Regions from separate parts of the Homo sapiens genome. Here regions 1, 2, 4, 5, 6 and 7 are each linked to region 3. The links are contacts of gene promoters, found by promoter capture Hi-C in blood cells and fetal thymus (Javierre and others, 2016). All regions are on one chromosome and are shown on one strand. Each heading gives the region's core, a stretch centred on a gene start or on the middle of the fragment in contact. The rest is flanking DNA. Distances are from core to core; before and after follow the strand shown.

Region 1 (2,700 bases), core at 149-2,648, 390 kb after region 3:
ACTTTGAGCGTCACCTCTTCCAGGAAATCTTCCCTGCTTTCCAATTTTGATTTAGATATTTGTCCTCTGGGCTCCCACAGCCCAATCTGTGGCTTCATTGAATTCAGCACAAGGGAAAAGCTATTCTAGCACCCATCACACTGTGCTGTAAGTGATGACTTCATTGTCTGACTCCTGCTAGACTATAGGTCATTCATAGCTGGATTGGTATCTTATTGCTAAACACAATGCTTGGCACATATGTAATATTCAGTGAAAGTTTGTGGAGTTAAACTACACAGACAGTGATGGTTAGAGGCTTTGGTTAAGAGTATGATAGTTAAATTGATAGACCAGGAATAATGTTACAACTGTAACATGTTGGTCTAGTTCATCATTAATATTTGTTGAATGGCTTCAGTGTGCTTTGTCCTAAGTTCTTAGCAAAGTGACTGATGAGTTTCAGAAAAATGAAGACTCAGATATATAAAGTGGAAGATGGTACCTCTCATAGGTTTTCTGAGTAACTGAGAAAAAGCATTTGTTTATTTTGTTAGTATTTTATTTTTAAAGTTTAATTAAGTTAAATTTTATATTTTATTTTAATTACCTGTCACTGACTTTAAGTCCAGTATTTTGCTAGTATTTTTAAACCACTGTTTCTGCTCTTCTTTCCTACCCACATACCTTTTTGTTTTCCTCTCTCCTAATCTGTCTTTACTTGGTAGTACATTTGGCCTGGTAGATTCAGATGGACCTTGCTATGCAGTGATGGTGTACAATATAGTGCAGAGCTGGGGAGTGCTCATTGGAGACTCTGTAGCCATTCCTGAGCCCAACCTGCGGCTTCACCGAATTCAGCACAAAGGAAAGGTGAGCAATGGCTAGGATTCTCTTACAACTCGTAGGCTCTAAAAGTAGAACCAAGCTTATCTTTTTATAAAAGATATAGAAATAATTATATGTAAGTATGTGTGTAGGCTATGTGTATATATATTTGTGTGTATATGTTTTATTTATATATATATATGTATTTTTTTACTAAAAAGGTAAACTGGTAAGCAGAAAAATAAAAAAATGCAGTGAAATATTATCACTCAGGTATTACTGCCTTTTAACTGTTACTGTTAACAGTTTGGTGTATATACCTGAAGTCTTTTCTTTTCACAAATATATACACATATATCTATATTTTAAATCATGAGTGGGATATTATATGCAAATGTTTGTGAATGTTTCCTATGTTTTTACATATTTCACCACATTGAGTAGACACGGGGTGATGAAGATGGTAATGATAGTTAACATTTATTTAACACTTAATTGAGTGCTAGACACTGTGCTAAGAGTTTTTATTACCTGCCTTGCCCCATTCAATTCTTAAAAAAACCTTATGAATGTAGATATTTAACTACTGTTTAACCATTTAGATCAGAGGTTGGCAAAGCCCATTGACCAAATCTGGCTCACTGCTTGTGTTTATTAATAATGGTTTCTAGGCTGGGCATGGTGGCTCATGCGTAAAATCCCAGCACTTTGGAAGGCCAAGGTGGGAGGATCACTTGAGCCCAGGAGTTTAAGACCAGCCTGGGCTATATAGTGAGACCCCGTCTCTACAAAAAAATGTTAAAAAACTTAGCCAGGTATGGTAGCACATGCCTGTAGTCCCAGCTACTAAGGAGGCTGAAGTGAGAGAACCACTTTATCTCAGGAGTTTGAGGCTGCAGTAAGCCATTATTGTCCCATTGCACGCCAGCCCGGGTGATAGAGAAAGTCTGCCTCAAAAAAAAAAGAAAAACAAGAGTGTGGTTTCTGTGTTGTTAAGTGAAAAAAATGGACAGAAGCGTAATATTTTGTGATATGTGAAAATTACAGGAAATTCAGATTTCAGTGTCCACAAATAAAGCTTTATTGGAACACAGCCACACTCATTTGCTTACTATTGTCTGTGGCTGTTTTTGCACTATAGTGTCAGAGGTGACTTGTTCTGTAACAGAGACCATATGACCTACAAAGCCTAAAATATTTACTATCTGTCCCTTTGCAGAAATACTTTGATGACCTCCGATCTAAATTAGTACTTTTATAATAGAAAAAAAATTAGAAACACAGTGAGGATTTTTGTATCTTTGCTTGTATCTATGATTAGTTCCTTAAATGAATTTCTAATGTAGACTCCTGGGTCCAAAGGGTATGCAGAATTCTGAGGCTTTTGATACATATTGCCAAATAATTCTTTGGAAAATTGTACTAGTTAGTTGTCACTACCAACAGTGGATGTAAATAAGTGTTTCTCTGTAGTTTTTTTCTCAACTCTGGTTGGAAACCTTTGAAAAGTTATTTTCTAATTTTACATGGAAAATATAGCATGAATATTAATTTATATTTCTTGTATAAATTGCCATTTTTTGTGTCACTTGTTGATATTTCTGTGAAGACTTAAAAAAAATTGGTTTATGAGAACTTTTAAATTTACTTTACTTGGACTTAAAAGAGCCTGCCTCTCATTGCCATATTTTTTGGATGAAGACTATTTAATATGTTTTACAACTTAAAATACACTTAAACTGATACAGTGAGCTGATACCTTTTTTGTTATTAGGAAAACGGCTACATTCTGTTTCATGTTCTATTTCCTCCTCTTGATATAAAAGAGAAGTAACTTTAATTTGTATTTGGTGGATTAAATTAGGACCTTATAAACATTTGGACTGAGATTTT
Region 2 (2,700 bases), core at 188-2,687, 330 kb before region 3:
TCTTGTCCTCATCAACATTGATCCCAATGCCAAGGGTTGGATGGATTGGGCAGCCCACAAGGTTTGGAGGGGCCTGTGTGCTGAGACCTACGGTTGGGGATCCCCTCGTATGGATCCAGTTAGGCTCTGGTAGATAGCCTAACTGGATGGACTCTGAACTTCAAGGAGGGAGTAAAGGGGCAGGAAAGTGAAGCTGTCACTTTGCCTGAGTCTCTTATAATATCCTGAACTTTCTTTTTCTTTTTCTTTTTTTTTTTTTTTTTGAGATGGTGTCTCACTCTGTTGCCAAGGCTGGAGTGCAGTGGCTTGATCTTGGCTCACTGCAACCTCTGCTTCCTGGGTTCAAGTGATTCTCCTGCCTCAGCCTCCCAAGTAGCTGGGATTACAGGCACCCGCCACCACGCCTGGCTAATATTTGTATTATTAGTAGAGATGGGGTTTCACCATCTTGGCCAGGGTGGTCTTGAACTCCTGACCTCGTGATCCACCCGCCTCGGCCTCCCAAAGTGCTGGGATTACAGACGTGAGCCACTGTGCCTGGCCAATACCCTGAACTTTCTCACCTGCCTTCTCCTCATAGCTAACAGGCCTCACCTCTTCCATTCCGGAGATGATCCTTGGACATCTTTTCAGCCAGGTAAGTGGGTGTAGGAGATGTAGAAGAGTCGACGGGAGCAGCAGGGAACTTGAATGCTTGGGCTAACTTCCTTAGCTGGGACAGGATTTGGGGAAGGAAGAAGGCTTACCTCTTTTCCTCCAGTAATTGTTGTTTTCTCTTTCCATCCCTAATTTTTCTCCTTGTTCTCTCCTTCAGGAAGAGCTCTCTGGAAATTCTGAGTTGATACAAAAGTACAGAAATATCATTACACATGCACCCAACCTGGATAACATTGAATTGTACTGGAACAGCTACAACAAGTGGGTGGGCTGTGTGTGTATGCATGTGAGAGAAATGCAGAAGCAGTAATTGGGCGTCATGGGGGAGGCACAGAGGAGGAGAGGGAAGTCTGGGTAGTGTGCAATGTGCAAGGAATGCAGCATTTAGTGTGCAATGGGGGCAGCTTCAGGACAGAGTCAGTGGGAAGGATTGCAAGGGGCTGTCCCCCTTCTCTTGTTTACCTCCTTTGGATTATTGGACTCCCAGAAGTAAGATGATCTTGTGTCCTGTGTCCTTCCTCCCCTTTTGTTGCCCTCTGACCAGGGATCTAGGGCACAAGTGACTATAGGGGCTGTGCTTGGGGCCTGCCTGCCCCTTTCTCCTTTGGTTTCCACCTTTAATAACCAAGATTTGACCGTAATTTTTAGACAAAGATAGTTCCATCATGGGAGAGATAGCTTATATCTGGTTAGATAGCATTGCCCACCTAAAATTCCTACTCTTTTAACCCCTTTCTAGCCGCCGAGACCTGAACTTTGAGCGTGGAGGTGATATCACCCTCAGGTAAGACTTTAAGAGATAATGCATTGCCTGTCTCCCTGGATCTTCCCTAGGAGCTTGTGTCCCTTAGAAGAAGGAGAATCTTTTGCCAGGGAACTTCCTTGTCATGTCCCACCCCATCCTATTTGGTAAATCACTTCCCTCTAGGTCTTCCCCCTTTGAATCCTCTTGGTGGCATCAGCAGGGAGACACAGAAGTGTCTTTCCTCTTTGGAGCCAGATATTTTTCCAGCTGCACTCCTAGGCAGAGGCCAGTGAGGGAGTGCCAGGGGCTCACTGCCTTCTCCCCAACACTGTGTCTTTAGGTGTCCTGTGATGCTGGTGGTAGGAGACCAAGCACCTCATGAAGATGCAGTGGTTAGTAGGGAATTTTGGGGTGAGTGAGGGAGGAGGGTTGGGGTCCTAAAGTGGTGGTCAGAAGAGTATCTTGCCAAGGGGATGTCCTGTTTGGCACAGGGAGATCAACTTTGGGGCACTAAGAATTTGATTCCTGGTAAGGAGGAACTGGGTAGGGAGCTGATAGAAAAGGGACTGGGGTCTGGGTTCCTGGGTCCCTTACGGGGGAGGCGCCACAGTGGGCGTGACCTCATTCATTCAGCCTCCTGCTTACTCCAGGTGGAATGTAACTCAAAACTGGACCCCACCCAGACCTCGTTCCTCAAGGTCAGTAACCTGTTCCTGGGCCCCCGTCCACAGTCATATATCCTCTCTACATGCAGCTGCTAAGCCTCCAGGGCCCGGCATGGGAGCAAATGGGGTGAACGAAGAACAAAACAAAGGGGCTAGAGTGAAGAAGCTAGGGAAGAGAGACCCTTTCCACCTCTCTGCATGGCTCATTTATGTGTGTTTCACTTTTTCTGGGTGGTGCTCTCCTGAACAGATGGCTGACTCCGGAGGTCAGCCCCAGCTGACTCAGGTGAGTGCCGCTGCCGTCCATGGGATGGGGAAGGGACATAGGATACCGGTGGCACTGGGCTCTGCCCTTTGCCACACACCCGGCCCCACAGTGCCGCAGCCTCAGGCTCCAGCTCTTCCTCTAACCTCATCTCACCGTCTCCCTCGCCTCTTCTTACTTCCGCAGCCAGGCAAGCTGACCGAGGCCTTCAAGTACTTCCTGCAAGGCATGGGCTACAGTGAGTATCGGGACAAGAGCTTGCTGCACTAGAGGAGAGATAGGCACTGACGGGGTGGAACCGTTTTAGGTGAATGCCTGGACTCACCGCTATCTGCCCAATCGAGCTCGTTGATCCCCTGGCTTAGTTA
Region 3 (2,700 bases), core at 85-2,584:
TAATTTTTGTATTTTTAGTAGAGACGAGGTTTCACCATCTTGGCCAGGCTGGTCTCGAACTCCTGATCTTGTGATGCACCCACCTCGGCCTCCCAAAGTGCTGGGATTACAGGCATGAGCCACCGTGCCGGGCCCACACAACTTTTATATTCCATACTAGTACTTTCTAGACAATCAGAGCTAACTTTAAAGGGGCCACTGAAAGTTGCTGTTCGAAGGAAACCTACATTGACTATTACCATAAATTCAAAAATTATTTTACTCTGCTTGTCATCAGTAAAAGAATTGCTTGAATTGAAGCGTATGTAATAAACCTATCCTCTTGCAAAACTTGTTAGTGGCTCTGTGGTTAAGTAAGTCTTGAATACCTGAGGCTGCTTCTGGGAAGGTGGTCCTGTGCCACAGATAATGATGTCCCTTGGGTTTCTACTGATTACATTATGACTTGATTATAAGATTTTTACTGTCACGAGGGAGGGTCTTGGCTCATCTGAGATTTCCCTAGCCCCCTGAGTGGTGCTGAAATTGTTTTAATAAAGATGTTGCGCTTTACTCATGTGCTGCTATTAGCATTTGACGTGCTGTCTCAGAGCGAGAAAACGGAGGATCCCAACCTTCCAGTAGGAAGGCTTAGAGAAGAGGCTGTTGGCAAGTGTCTCTAAGAATTGCACAACACTGGCTGAGGGTGGGTTAAGGGTGAGGAGGCAGAGGAGAGTAAACAGAAAACACCGATCCCCAAATGTTAGTTACGCTTGCAAAAAACTAAGGCCTGCTTCAAAAAGCTGGTGATTAGCCTGAATAACTAGCAAAGCTTTCTTAGTTGTGGGCAAGTGCAGGCCTCCTAGGGCTTCCCTTAGGTTCGGCGATTCTGTGGTCCCCCTCCAAGCCTACTAATCAATAGAAGCTGGCATCTGTGCCCAGCTGCGCAAAGTAAACCTGAGTGGGAATGTAAAGTCGTTAACTCATACAAATACGGGACTTTCACGTCCCTCCCCATTCCTCCCTCTCCAGCCCCGTCCCGCAAACTCCTCCCCAAGGAGTCCCAAGCTGCCTCTACTAGGAAAGGACTCCCCGGCCTAAACGCCCCTTATGAAGCTACCAGAGAGGAGGAGGAGGAGCAGGAGTGTGAACCTACCTCGGCCTCAGAACAAGTCCGCAGAAACGGGCAGGACAATGGAAAGAAGTTTTGTTTCTCACCCGCTTCTTCCTCCCTAGTACGATGATGGGGAGCCGGTAGAAAACGCAAAGATGTTCTTTTGAATCCTGCTTTGCATCTAGGTGGGGTTGGCGTCCTTGTGTGAGTGTGTGTACACGGACGGAGATGGGGGCGTGGTGAGGTGTGGAGGGTCGGCGTGCCAGCCTCTGCGTAGTTGGGACCGCGCCCCGCTTCTCCGAGGAGGCCCCTCCCGCCTGGATCCGCCCTTGGAGCTGGCGCCGCAGCAGCACCCGCCCCAGGGGCCGCAGGGGCAGCCCAGGCAAAGAACGAGCCTGGGATCCGCGCTCCTTCCTCAGCTGGACCCCAACGGGCAGCAGCCGCGAGAGCACTGCCTCCACGGAGAGCAGATGGCGGGAAACTGGCTTCTGCTCCCAATTGCCAGGCGGCCCTTCAGAGACTACCCCTGGCTGAGCGTCCAGGAACCCATGAAACTTGGTCTTGACACTGGTCGACAGCACCATCTGCCACGTACTTATTCGCTGCTGCTTTCTTTGGCAGGACAGCCCATCGCGAGACAGTTTGTGTTTCAAATTTAACGGAGACTTTTTTTCAGTAGTTGACAAAAGGGGGTGGAAAAACAGTAGCCACGAGGGCTCGTCCGGGATTTGAACCCGGGACCTCTCGCACCCAAAGCGAGAATCATACCCCTAGACCAACGAGCCACTGTAGCTGAGTGGTGCTTCCTATCACTCTGAATTTCTCTTTTCCGCCTGCTGTTCTGAAGGTTTTTTGTTTTGTTTCTTTTCCTCTGTTGTGACATTTCCCTTAGGCCTTATTTAGTTATTCCTTCCATCTTCACCAAGTTTCAAGTGTGGCTTATTCTCTGGCTTATTCTCCTCGATCCAGATGCAGGATGGGGTGAAGGAAGGCAGCTTTTTAGACTTTAGGTCACATGCTTGTGTCTCACTGAGCCCGGGGAGCGATTTAAGCCCGCTAGGGCCTGGAGGGAACCTGGAGGGGGCTGAAATAGAGATCGAGGGCCAGAGCTGAGCTCGGTTGCAAGGCTGTAGGGTACTGAGCCCCAGGACAGACGCGCGATACGTATATATCTGCCGGCCTTTGGACTTAACGTAGAAGCCAAAATATAACACACTTCGGTAAGACAACAGTGCCTTCCCCCAACGGTGGGACGATTCGGGTCTACTATCTTTCAGAAAGGTAACCAACTTTTCAAGACGCGATTAACGCAGCCCACCTCGCGGCTAAGCTGTTTCCTTCGGACAAGGGTGAGAGACAGAAACAGATTTGATCACGTCAAGATACAGAGATTTTTTGCACAAACGAAGAGCAACCGTAAACCCCAAAACAGCAGCGTCTCCTTCGAGCCGGAATCGAACCAGCGACCTAAGGATGACCACACATTAAGTACTACAGTCCTCCGCTCTACCAGCTGAGCTATCGAAGGAAGCACGGAAACAACTCTCCTAAAAATCCCTACTCGAGACATCCTTAACCAGAGACGGGAAAGAAAGAAATCTCTTTAT
Region 4 (2,700 bases), core at 198-2,697, 330 kb after region 3:
GTCTCAGATCTTCCCATCTTAAAAAAGACTAAAACTTCTCCATTTTTTTGGATATGTGACTGTTTCCGGACAGTTTCAGCATCCTGGTATACCTCAGTTTATCTAAATTAAATTTTTTATGGTGGTATATATCCAGAAGTGAAAACAAATTTAAATGTTAATTGTTTAATCAGTTTGATTTTTTATCACTCCTCTCTTGGTCCATAACAATAAACTTCTGGTGCCAGCCGCAGTGGCTCACGCTTGTAATCCCAGCACTTTGGGAGGCCAAGACGGGCGGATCATGATGTCAGGAGATCGAGACCATCCTGGCTAACATGGTGAAACCCCGTCTCTACTAAAAATACAAAAAAAAATTAGCCGGGCGTGGTGGCGGGCGCCTGTAGTCCCAGCTACTCCGGAGGCTGAGGCAGGAGAATGGCGTGAACCCAGAGGCGGAGCGTGCAGTGAGCCGAGATCGCGCCACTGCACTCCAGCCTGGGCGACAGAGCGAGACTCCGTATCAAAAAAAAACAAAAACAAAAAAACGAAAAAAACAATAAACGTCTGGAAATAGGGCCTAAGATTTTATAAGAAACTTAGTAGGCCGGGCGTGATGGCTCACGCCTGTAATCCCAGCACTTTGGGAAGCTGAGGCGGGTAGATCACCCAAGGTCACGAGTTCAAGACCAGACTGGCCAACATGATGAAACCCTGTCTCTACTAAAAATACAAAAAAAATTAGCTGGGCATAGTGGCGGGCACCTGTAATCCCAGCTACCTGAGAGGCTGAGGCAGAAGAATCGCTTGAACCCGGGAGCTGGAGGTTGCAGCGAGCTGAGACTGAGCCATTGCACTCCAACCTGGGCAACAAGAATCAAACTCCAGCTCAAAAAAAAAAAAAAGAACCTTAGTAAATAACAGAGCCAAGACTAGAAAGGCACATTCTATCCTCATTCTTACTGTCCCTTTGGGATTACAAAGATCAGTGAGAGCACCCCTGAGGTGAGAAGTAGAAAGGATTCAAGATATCCTGGCCTGTCCCAGTCCAGGAATGATCTAAGCTATTCTGCTTTACCCTGAGTAAGAAGAAACAGGAGTAGGTGTGGTGCCTCATGCTTGTAATCTCAGGACTTTGGGAGGCCAAGACAAGAGGACTGCTTGAGCCCAGGAATTCGAGACCAGCCTGGGCAACATAGTGAAACCTCATCTTTACAAAAAAAAAAGAAAAAAAATCAGCTGGGCAGAGTGGCACGTGCCTGTAGTTCCTGATACTGAGGAGGCTGAGGTGGGAGGATCACTTGAGCCTGAGGATCTTGAGGCTGCAGTGAGCCATGATTGTGCCACCCAGCCTGGGCAACAGAGCACAGTTTTGCCTCTAAAAAATAAAATAAAAAAAGAAGATGTGTTTCTTTCGAAAAGTATAGTGAGAGTTACCTGAGTATTGGTGGCATAGTCCATCTGTAGCATATCATATTTTCCAGGCACCTTCTCAAACTTTTCTCGATCTTCCCAATTGTTTTTCGTTTTGTCAAGGAATCTGTAGAGTCCAAGGTGTAAGAAAACTTTACAAATAAAGGTCTACTATGAAGATGGACTTACAAGACAGAAAATCTCCAAAGAATTTATTTTCCAGCACTGAGCTCCTTTACACATCAACTTTCCATAAATCAAAATTAGTCTAATTCTAAATGAGGACACTAAATGGACAAAAAAGCTCTGGAGACAAATGGAATTTAAAAAATGGGAAAAACAATGCTTGTCCTTCCCAAACACCACAAAAGCCATTGAGATTTCAAACAAAAGATATCCATCTAATCTCTTTCCCTGAAAGAAACATGTTCTCCAATTCTCCAGAAAGTTCTTCATCTATATCATAAAGTTTTAAAAATTCTAACTGAATATTCTCTTTTTTTCTTTCCTTTTTTTTGGGGGAGAGTCAGGGGTCTCGCTTTGTTGCCCAGGCTGGTCTCAAACTCCTAGCTTCAAGCAATCCTCCTGCCTCAACCTCCCAAAGTGCTGGGATTACAGGCATCACCGTGCTCAGCCCCTAGTTGAATATTATCTATCCCAGGATAGTCTCCACTTATCCCAAATTTCCTAAATTTGTCAGTCATGTGTTAAATATATTAGATTCTTCTGTTTTTAGTGACTTTCAAGGTATTAGTTTGATTTAATCACTAAGGATGCAGTTTGGTGTTTCAACCACAGAATGTCAGGGTGAAAAGACATTAACATTTAGGCCAAATCACACCTATAAAACGAAAAGTTTTTTATAAGCCACACACTTATAAAATTCTTAGAGAAGGCAGGGCACGGTGGCTCACGCCTGTAATCCCGCACTTTGGGAGGCTGAGGCAGGCGGATCACCTGAGGTCAGGGGTTCGAGACCAGCCTGGCCAACATGGCGAAACCCCATCTCTATTAAAAATACAAAAATTAGCTGGGCGTGGTGGTGGGCGCCTGTAATCCCAGCTACTAGGGAGGCTGAGGCAGGAGAATCACTTAAACCCAGGAGGTGGAGGTTGCAGTGAGCTCAGATCATGCCATTGCACTCCAGCCTGGGCAACAAGAGTGAAACTGTCTAAAAAAAAATTTTTTAGAGAATATACATCTAAGAAGAGGAGGGTATATTTTTTTGTAGTCACTTTTCAGCACTCACTTCTTCTGAAAGATTTCCTTGGCCTTGTTGAGATTGCCTGAACAAGCCACCAGGCTGTG
Region 5 (2,700 bases), core at 91-2,590, 390 kb before region 3:
CCAAATCCTCATTTGTAATAGTAAATGGCACATAAGGATGTTGTGAGGGTTATGAGACAGTAAGTGTAAAAGCATAGTATCTTGCCCAGATACATGCACAGTAAGAATGGTCTGGCAGCTAAGGTTTGTTGGCAGCCTTCAGCTGTGTCTCCACCTCCCACTTCCACCTGCCTCCGCACACCCATACTTCGTACTTGCTGCTGGGAGTGGAGCGCAGCCTCATCAGGATGGCCCCCCCATCCCTCTGCAGTGCCGTCAGCCGGGGATCTGCCAGCACCTTCTGCAGTGGCTTGGGCATTCCCACTGCCTCCTGGGGATAGGGAGGAGTTGCCAGTTGGGGTTCCACCAGAGAGTCTCCACCCCAGCCCCATCCCAATCCCATCCCCCCACTGTCCCATCTCATTTCATACCTCTTCCTCTGGCTCTGCTGCTCCCTCCAGCTCCTCAATGGCCTGCCGTACCGAGCCCAGCACACCTTGGCACAGGCGACATAGCCTTACCACTTCCTGAAACCCACATGCAGGGATGGAGTTGAGGATCAGAGTTTAAGAAGGAACTTAAGCCCTAGGGTTGGGGTGCGGTAGCCCCAGAGACTTTTATGGAGGCAATGCTGAATTCAGTTCCTGACTTTGTTGCTAACTAATTGTATGAGGTTGGGCAGGTTCAGAAACCTTCCTGAACTTCAGTTCCTCAACTGTAAAGTCAGGATAAGAAAGGCTTCTGTGATTTTTAAGGAGATGATGCCAGTTTAGCAACTAACGTGGGCCTGGCACATTGTACAGCTTGGTAACTGTGACCTTCCTGTCTGTCTTCAGTGGGGCTTCCCCCTGTCACACCCCCTCTCTCTGCCTATTCATGTCAATTTCCCCTTTGACACTAAAGGCGAAGCTTAGAGACCATCTACAGACCCCTCTTTCATACTCAGCTCAGATCATGTTTATTTCTCTCTTCTTGAATACTCACAACACTTATATTCATAGAATTACATGAGATAAGTGCTGGAAGGACCTTTAGCAATTATATTGTGATTGTTATACTGCGCTGATGAGGATCCTGAGGCCTGGATGTTGGTGCAAGGAGCGGATACAGAAAGGGCACTATTTCTGCAAGTGAGGTAAAGTAATTTGGAACAAGAACCAGCCTTTTGACTCTCAGTGCTTTCCAGAAACCCAATGACACTATCTTGCACTCTTCTCTACTTGTTTCATGATTTATCTCCCACCAAAAATCATACACTACTTAATGTCATATTAAGAATTTATTTGGCTGGGCATAGTCACTCATGCCTGTAATCTTAGCACTTCGGGAGGCTGAGACGGGTGGATCACTGGAGTCCAGGAGTTTGAGACCAGCCTGGGCAACATGGCAAAACCCCGTCTCTACAAAAAAAAAAAAAAAAAAAATACAAAAACTAGGTGGGTGTGGTGGCACATGCCTGTAGCCACAGCTACTCAAGAGGTTGACATGGGAGGATCGCCTGAGTCCAGAGGGTCGAGGCTGCAGTAAGCTGTGATCGAAGCATTGCACTCCAGCCTGGGTGACAGAGTGAGACTGTCTAAAAATAATAATTATAATAATTTATCATACTCCTCCTATCTCCCCAGTAGAACATGGCACAGTGCACATGTTTTCCTCATGATTTGGGAGCCATAAATACTTGTTGAATTGAATGGAATGGAAACCACTTTTTTGCAACCTCATGGTATGTCCTGGACATGGCCTCTCTCCTAGAATGTCTTCAGCTGGGTTATTCCTGGCTCCCAGCATGCTAGGTGGTAGAGGGGAAGCTTACCTGGTGTATCTCTACCCAGTGACTGGGAGAGGGGTCCCTGTGACCTCCTAACTCCCACTGCAGCTCCTCTGGCTTGGCCACTCTTTTCAGATCATTCTCTGACAGCACCTCAGCACCCTGTAGAGGGTAAGGCAGGGGGTTTCTTCCTGGGCACCCAAGGACTCAGAAACCAGCCTGGGGCTCCAGCCAGCCTCTTCTCCTCTCCCCACTACTGATGGGAAACTAGATGGGAATGAAGGGCTCAAACCTGAAATCCACAGAGTTCAGTTGGAAGGTCATCATGAATGAGAATCAGCAGCCGCTGAACAAGGGGAGGATCTCCTGAGTCCTAAGGGCAGAAAAGAATAACCCTAAACTGGGCAATCGGGTGTCCTGGACTGGCCACTGGTGAAGAGTTAGGATCCAGGGGAACTGCCTGTTTGAGGGGTGGTTACCTGAAGTTGGCTCAAGGCAGGAATGAGTGCTGGAGGCAGTGGAGGTGCCTGACGAAGGTCCAGCAGGACGGACAGCCCCAGTGTCTGTAGATCAGGCCTGCGGGAGCAGGAAGAGCCAAGGAGGCTGCTGTGTGTGTGTTTTGGGGGATAGCAGATAAGGCAAGGCAGACATACGGGGTCTGTTTTTAGTTAATAGTCCTGAGGAGAAATTAGTTGCCGGTACATTTGGGAAGAAATGGGCAAAGGGCCAAATTCTGGGGTGTGTGTACAAGAGGAAGTCACCTAGCAGTCAGGGGTCTATATTCATATGGCTACTAGGTCAAGGGATTAAGGTCTGGAAAATTAAGAATTCTGTTCTGAAATGGCGTGCATTCAATATCAGCCTGTAGTATGGTGCCTAATAGGTACTCAGTGCTCAATAAATGTTTGTTGAATCAGTGAACCAATGTCCTGATGATCTTGGTAGGGTTGGAA
Region 6 (2,700 bases), core at 54-2,553, 370 kb before region 3:
CTTTGCTTCTGTTTCCCTCTTCCCTGCAAGTCCTCCCTCAAATATTATCCATCCTTTAGAACTCATCTTGACCATATGAGTTTGCTCAGGATCACATTTACGAACCTTGCCGTACAAATCCTAACCTCCTTTAGCATTAACTGTTTCATAGTATCACTCATTTGGGTTCTAAATCGTGTACTACCTTGTTTTGCTATTTAACTCTTTCATCCAGTAAGAGCATCCAGTCTTCCCAACTAGACGGTAAACTCGTGGGACAGGAATCAGGTCCTTCCGTGCTTCTCTGTCTTCATAGTGCCAGGCACATGGCTAGCTCACAGGAGCACTCAGTAACCGTGCATTGAACTCAGTCATCACTCTGATCCTCTCAGTCTTCTTACTATTTATAACACAAGGAGTTTCAGTTGAATAATGTCTAAAATGCCCCCTGGTTCTGACACTTGTGTGACACAAGAAAAAACATCAAAGTGCTAGTAAGTAGCCAGCACCTTACTAGTATGAAGGAGAGGCCTAATAGTAGACTCTGAAGGTGCCTTGAAAGAAGGGGAGCAGAGAATAAGCAACTATCTCCCAAAGACCCATTCTTTCAGGATACCCCAGGAGGGCTGAGCGAGGGTGCCAGAGAAGTTTGCCTGGTTTGCTGGCCTGAAGGACAGCAGTACCACGAGGGTCGTCTTTGAACTACAAGTGCCACCCCCATAGGGTTTTTCAAGCTTCAACCTTCAAACAGCCTCCTGGTGGTGACAGACCTGTGGTCTGGGCCCTGGTTTATGGCTCTGAGAAGCAGAGCTCCATCACATGGAATCCAGTGGCCACATTCCTTTTGGGAAGCCCTCCTCTGTTTCCAGTGGCTAACCCTGTCTCCTGCCAGGTCCATTTTTCTTTTCTATGTAGTTCTTTGAGGCCTTCCTATGGTGCCCATTTGCACTATGAGCTTGTCTCTGCGGGAGGACTGTCTCCCTTTGTTCCTCACTCCTGGATTCATCTTCATGAGGGAGAGGATGTAGTCTTCAACCCAACCAGAGCTGAGGCATATGGCTCCCTGGATACGCCAGTTCCCCTCATAGGCCGGCTGCCCTCCTGAGACCTCTGACTTACCACAACAAGGCTGCGTGCAGCCTTCAGCCCTGCTAGGAATGATAGGGGTCATAACGATAAAAACAATCATAGTTAACATTTACTGAGGCTTTTCTATGTTCCAGTCACTGTTCCAAGTGCTCTATGTCTATTTTCTCATTTTTCAGCATGAAAAGGACCTTTCCAATGCCCTAGCCCCATGACTACCCTATCTTCCTCAACCAGTTCTTGAAAAGAAACACTGGTCAGAGACAGAAATCCACAAAGAGCAAGTTAAGGAAAACATTAGAGCCAGTGTACTGCTACCCCAGGTGGAACACAGATGTGTGCAGAGGGTACACAAAGTCACAAGATAAATGTGTTCTTTACAATTTTACTAAAACCATCTTTTTAGGGGATGGGGAGTAATTTAAGGCATTATTTTTACAGAAAATAACTTTGTATGATAGAAAAATTCAAATGAGTTACATTAAATTTTTTTAGCATTTTCACTTTGAAATAATTTAAAACGTATATAAAAGTTTCAGAAAGCATACACAGAGCTCCCCTATATGCTTCACCCAGTTCCCCAATTATTAACATTTCTGAGCTATTTCAGAACAAGTTACAGACATGATGCTCATTACCCCTTAATACTTCAGTGACTATTTCCTAATTACAAGTACTCTCGTGTGCATAACCACAGTACAGCCACCAAAAAGGGGAAATTGACATTGATCCATTATTATTATTACCACAAATGAAATTTAAAGATAGCATATAAAACACTCATATGCACGGCTATTTTATAAATATTAGTTAAGTGAAAGAAGCTTCAGAGAAAGCCCAAGCTCATTGGGCACTACTTTAGGTGTTTTAGTTCATCTTCCTCTGTGGTTACTAGCACTTCAGGGGAAATTCTGGGAAGCATTGCTCTGCAGGTTCTAGTTGACCATGAAGATCCTGTTCTGGATATGCCAAATTCAAGGGTAAAAAGTGGTAACCCTTACCAAAGATAAATGCTTGGGATATCTCAGGCCCACCCGGAGCTCCACCAAACAGGATCTCTGTAATGTTTTCACCCTGGTCCGGAGTAGCAGATGGGAGGTCCAGGCCCTTTTTCTTGTTGCATATCCTTATTTATGTTTCCAGCAGCCAATGGCACGGCCAGGGACATGCTTGACTAGTTTGCCATCAATTCCTCATGTACTGTTTTTTTCCCATCTCAATGATACAATATGAGCATTCAGGTGAAGGTCAGAAATGCAACGTGTCAGGATTACGGGCACTTAATACTCTTTTGGATGAACATGCTTTTGTCTCAAATCCGGGGGTCTGCCCATTTGCAGATTGATTTGCCAGTCCATGTATGATTTGATCTTGAAAGATATCTGGGCTGGGCACAGTGGCTCACCTGTAATCCCAACACTTTGGGAGGCCAAGGCAGGCAGAACATGAGGTCAGGAGTTCAAGAGCAGCCTGACCAACATGGTGAAACCCAGTCTTTACTAAAAATACAAAAATTAGCCGGGCATGGTGGTGCATACCTGTAATCTCAGCTACTCAGGAGGCTGAGGTAGGTGAATCGCTTGAACCTGGGAGGCCAAAAAGCTCAACAAGGTTGCAATGAGTCGAGATCGTGCC
Region 7 (2,700 bases), core at 103-2,602, 310 kb before region 3:
AAACGCAGACGGAGTAAGCACAGGTAAAAGATCTCCCCAGGAGCTGACACGGGCACAACGATACAAATCCCTGTGGAAACAGATGCTGGCGTGGGCTGCAGCTTCCTGCCACATCCCACTGATTTTGGTCACACCCCCCATACCTGCCGTGCCGGCGGGCTGTGAGCACAGCATGCTGCATGTGCCCATCTGGACAGCACAAGTGACAATGCACATGGCGAGGCCGTTTAAGGACAGGCTGAGTGATACGGGGCCAGCGATGAGCCTCCTCTGGAGACCCCCGAGCAAGGATCACCATAGAGAACTTTTCTTCCTTTGGTTTCTTGTTCTAAGATAAGGAACATAGAGACTGTTTAGAAGAAAAAGATATGGGAAAAAAGTTTGTACAGTCCCTTCTTCCCCATTCCTGCAGTCCTTTTTTACAATGTATAAATCATATACATGTAGGCCCTAAAGTCTCCAGGCTATTCTACAAATTATCCAACTCCTCCTAACTCTGATTCTTTTTCTTCCTGTTTTTCCAGGATGTTTGCTTCCTGCTGCAATATCCCCAGGTACCTACCCAGCTGAAGGGGATGGGATGGTACGCCTGTGAGAAGCTACAGGCCAGGTTGGTCAACTGGGGACAAGGGAGTTCATGGGGACACTGTGAACACATAAAAAAATGAGGTAAGACAAAAGAGCCATCAATCACAAAACTTAAAAACTGAGAATAATAGAGTCAAAAGGGGCCAGGGAGAAGGGAGGACAGGAGCAGTGGGTAGGAAGAGCCAGGGGAATCATTAGGTAGGAACTGGATAGGAACACAAAGTAGTGGAGAGTGGCTTAGCTTTACCATCTTACATTTCCCGGCCACGCCTAAGTTCAGATCCGTGTGGTGGGACAGGCAGAAGTAATACTCACCGGGGCAAAGACAAAACCAGGTCGAGGGTCCAAAGGTGACTTCTCTTTTCCCTGAAATCAAAGGAAATAAAAGAAATAAAGCTGGGCCAAGGGTCTATTTTCATAATTCAATCTCTGCACTCAGTAAACTGAGGACTCCTTTAACACTCAATTCTAATAACGATTGACTATGTCCTTTGAATTAAGCTGGCTGCATCTTTAATACTCCAAACAAAGAACTTTCTCTTTGCTGCAGGAGAAAGGCAAGAACTTGGCACATAGTACGGTGCTCTCCCTTGTCAGCAACCTCCACTCTCAAAAAAATCCCACTCCAGGACAATTAAATTTATGATTATACACTGGCTCATACTCTCCCCCAGTGACAAGGTTCTTAGCTCAGCAATGCCCTAGATTAGGAGTCCGCAAAGTTTCTTTTAAAGGGCCAGAGAGTAGGCAAAATCTATCTCTGTCCCAACTACTCAACTCTGCTGTTTGTAGTGTGAAAGCAGTCACAGACAACAGAGGCACAAATAAGCATGGCTTATATAAAAACAGGTGGCAGGTCGGATTTGATCCACAGGCTCTCATTTGCCAACCACTGCTCTGTATCATAATGACTTCATACGCCCAGTTTCCTGAGAGCCACCCTTGTCAATACATGACAGTCTCTTTCGTTTTCAAGAGAGTAACAGTAATTGGTGCCATATGGGTGGGGGAGTGAGGGAAGAAGAAGCCTTACCTTAAGGACCAGATCCCTGGCATCCATGAGAAGGCTGTGCCCAGCTTTTGTTCCATTCTCCACCAGTACCTGTTCACAAAAGGGGAAAATATGCAGAAGACTTGAATTACACGAAAGTATAAATGTCAGTAGCTGTGTAAGAGCAATCATAGAGGGAGAAGGAGTCCTAAAAAGAAATAGGCATTACATAATCAGGATGGAGACCCTCAAAGAGGGATAAAGAAACCCATGAAGGAGAAAAATGGTGAAGAATAAAGACAATGAGAGGAGCAAAGGCATGAAATCCATGAAGCTGCTTCAAGACTTAAGGAGAACAAGGAATTTTAACTCACCAGGAAATGACCTGTCTTACGCCATAAGGTTTGAACTACCTCAGTGCGGTCAGCCTTGCTGGGCAGTTCACTTAAGGAAAAAGCTGACACTACTACATCAAACTGCACCTGAGGACCAAGACAAGGAACATGACAGACTCAACATCTCTACATCCCAAGAATACAACAAAGTCCTAGCCGCTAAATTTCTTTTATCTTCTAACACTCAGTGCTGGGCTGCAAAGCTCAAGCCATAGTTTTCCATCTGCCACATTCCACATTTAGAATATTCTAAACACTGCCACTTGCCTTGGGTGATACAGGTAGAAACTGTCTGAAAAAGACACCTGGAATATAAGGCTCCCCAGATTCTGAACCACCTGTGGAGAAAAGAAGAGGCAACTGTGAGTGTGTAGGAAGTTAGGTATAAACTGAAGAGATATCCAGATAAGAAACATGGCCCCAAGAATAGGTAAAGTGTATATCAAAAAGGGCAGGGATGAGCCAGGTATGGCGGTGCGTGCCTGTAATCCCAGCTACCCTAGAGGCTGAAGTGGGAGGATGGCTTGAGGCCAGGAGTTTGAGACCAGCCTGGGTAACATATGGAGACCCTACCTCTAATTAAAAAAAAAAAAAAAAGGGCAGGGAGAATATTAGGCCTCCTGTCCTTTGATTCTTACCCAACCCATCCTCAGTCCAGCAGAAACCTCTAATACCACCCTTTGCTTGACTATAACTTTAAAAGTAAACCAGATTCATCTTAATTTT

The links. The method cuts DNA at HindIII sites, captures the fragments that hold promoters and counts their contacts. A CHiCAGO score of 5 or more calls a contact.
Region 1: a fragment that was not itself captured here is called in contact with the fragment with the promoter of RNASE4 in region 3 in 4 of 17 cell types (fetal thymus, activated CD4 T cells, megakaryocytes and 1 more); the score reaches 8.7 in fetal thymus.
Region 2: a fragment that was not itself captured here is called in contact with the fragment with the promoter of RNASE4 in region 3 in 5 of 17 cell types (monocytes, fetal thymus, M1 macrophages and 2 more); the score reaches 7.7 in monocytes.
Region 4: a contact is called between a fragment that was not itself captured here and the fragment with the promoter of RNASE4 in region 3, in 17 of 17 cell types (naive CD8 T cells, naive CD4 T cells, total CD8 T cells and 14 more). The highest score is 21.7, in naive CD8 T cells.
Region 5: a contact is called between a fragment that was not itself captured here and the fragment with the promoter of RNASE4 in region 3, in 2 of 17 cell types (monocytes and M0 macrophages). The highest score is 7.6, in monocytes.
Region 6: a contact is called between a fragment that was not itself captured here and the fragment with the promoter of RNASE4 in region 3, in 4 of 17 cell types (monocytes, M2 macrophages, M0 macrophages and 1 more). The highest score is 7.7, in monocytes.
Region 7: a fragment that was not itself captured here is called in contact with the fragment with the promoter of RNASE4 in region 3 in 6 of 17 cell types (fetal thymus, total CD4 T cells, monocytes and 3 more); the score reaches 10.4 in fetal thymus.

Annotation. Positions count from the first base shown.
Region 1 is chr14:20,290,135-20,292,834 of GRCh38, reverse strand. It overlaps TTC5 (tetratricopeptide repeat domain 5), which reads left to right. Exons shown (of 10, transcript NM_138376.3): 9 at 708-852. Among named protein-coding and RNA genes, the nearest start is that of TTC5, 14 kb to the left of the region's middle. The HindIII fragment of the contact is 978 bases long and covers 910-1,887 here.
Region 2 is chr14:21,017,857-21,020,556 of GRCh38, reverse strand. It overlaps NDRG2 (NDRG family member 2), which reads left to right. Exons shown (of 16, transcript NM_001320329.2): 8 at 1-61; 9 at 581-637; 10 at 815-918; 11 at 1,397-1,441; 12 at 1,743-1,794; 13 at 2,053-2,100; 14 at 2,318-2,353; 15 at 2,519-2,570. Among named protein-coding and RNA genes, the nearest start is that of MIR6717, 4.2 kb to the left of the region's middle. RefSeq lists an enhancer at 1-1,042. The HindIII fragment of the contact is 4,424 bases long and covers 1-2,700 here.
Region 3 is chr14:20,683,194-20,685,893 of GRCh38, reverse strand. It overlaps RNASE4 (ribonuclease A family member 4), which reads right to left and starts at 1,334. Exons shown (of 2, transcript NM_002937.5): 1 at 1,136-1,334. TRY-GTA5-5 (tRNA-Tyr (anticodon GTA) 5-5) reads right to left here and starts at 2,621; the gene lies at 2,533-2,621. It overlaps TRP-TGG3-2 (tRNA-Pro (anticodon TGG) 3-2), which reads right to left and starts at 1,878; the gene lies at 1,807-1,878. It also overlaps a transcript of ANG not described here. RefSeq lists enhancers at 1,043-1,182, 1,983-2,112, 2,253-2,442, 2,643-2,700 and silencers at 1,413-1,532, 1,803-1,852. The HindIII fragment of the contact is 4,966 bases long and covers 814-2,700 here.
Region 4 is chr14:20,351,064-20,353,763 of GRCh38, reverse strand. PARP2 (poly(ADP-ribose) polymerase 2) reads right to left here. Exons shown (of 16, transcript NM_001042618.2): 6 at 2,642-2,700; 7 at 1,417-1,519. Among named protein-coding and RNA genes, the nearest start is that of PARP2, 8.8 kb to the right of the region's middle. The HindIII fragment of the contact is 4,027 bases long and covers 1-2,700 here.
Region 5 is chr14:21,075,983-21,078,682 of GRCh38, reverse strand. It overlaps ARHGEF40 (Rho guanine nucleotide exchange factor 40), which reads right to left. Exons shown (of 24, transcript NM_018071.5): 6 at 2,227-2,323; 7 at 2,040-2,120; 8 at 1,793-1,909; 9 at 411-506; 10 at 195-310. Among named protein-coding and RNA genes, the nearest start is that of ARHGEF40, 7.0 kb to the right of the region's middle. The HindIII fragment of the contact is 899 bases long and covers 891-1,789 here.
Region 6 is chr14:21,049,823-21,052,522 of GRCh38, reverse strand. It overlaps a transcript of NDRG2 not described here. Among named protein-coding and RNA genes, the nearest start is that of RNASE8, 6.6 kb to the left of the region's middle. The HindIII fragment of the contact is 1,176 bases long and covers 716-1,891 here.
Region 7 is chr14:20,994,155-20,996,854 of GRCh38, reverse strand. It overlaps METTL17 (methyltransferase like 17), which reads right to left. Exons shown (of 14, transcript NM_022734.3): 8 at 2,242-2,312; 9 at 1,954-2,061; 10 at 1,622-1,690; 11 at 904-954; 12 at 563-646; 13 at 144-328; 14 at 1-70. LOC101929718 (a long non-coding RNA gene) reads left to right here. Exons shown (of 4, transcript NR_110139.1): 3 at 1-23; 4 at 525-1,018. Among named protein-coding and RNA genes, the nearest start is that of SLC39A2, 3.8 kb to the left of the region's middle. RefSeq lists an enhancer at 1-726. The HindIII fragment of the contact is 5,148 bases long and covers 1-2,700 here.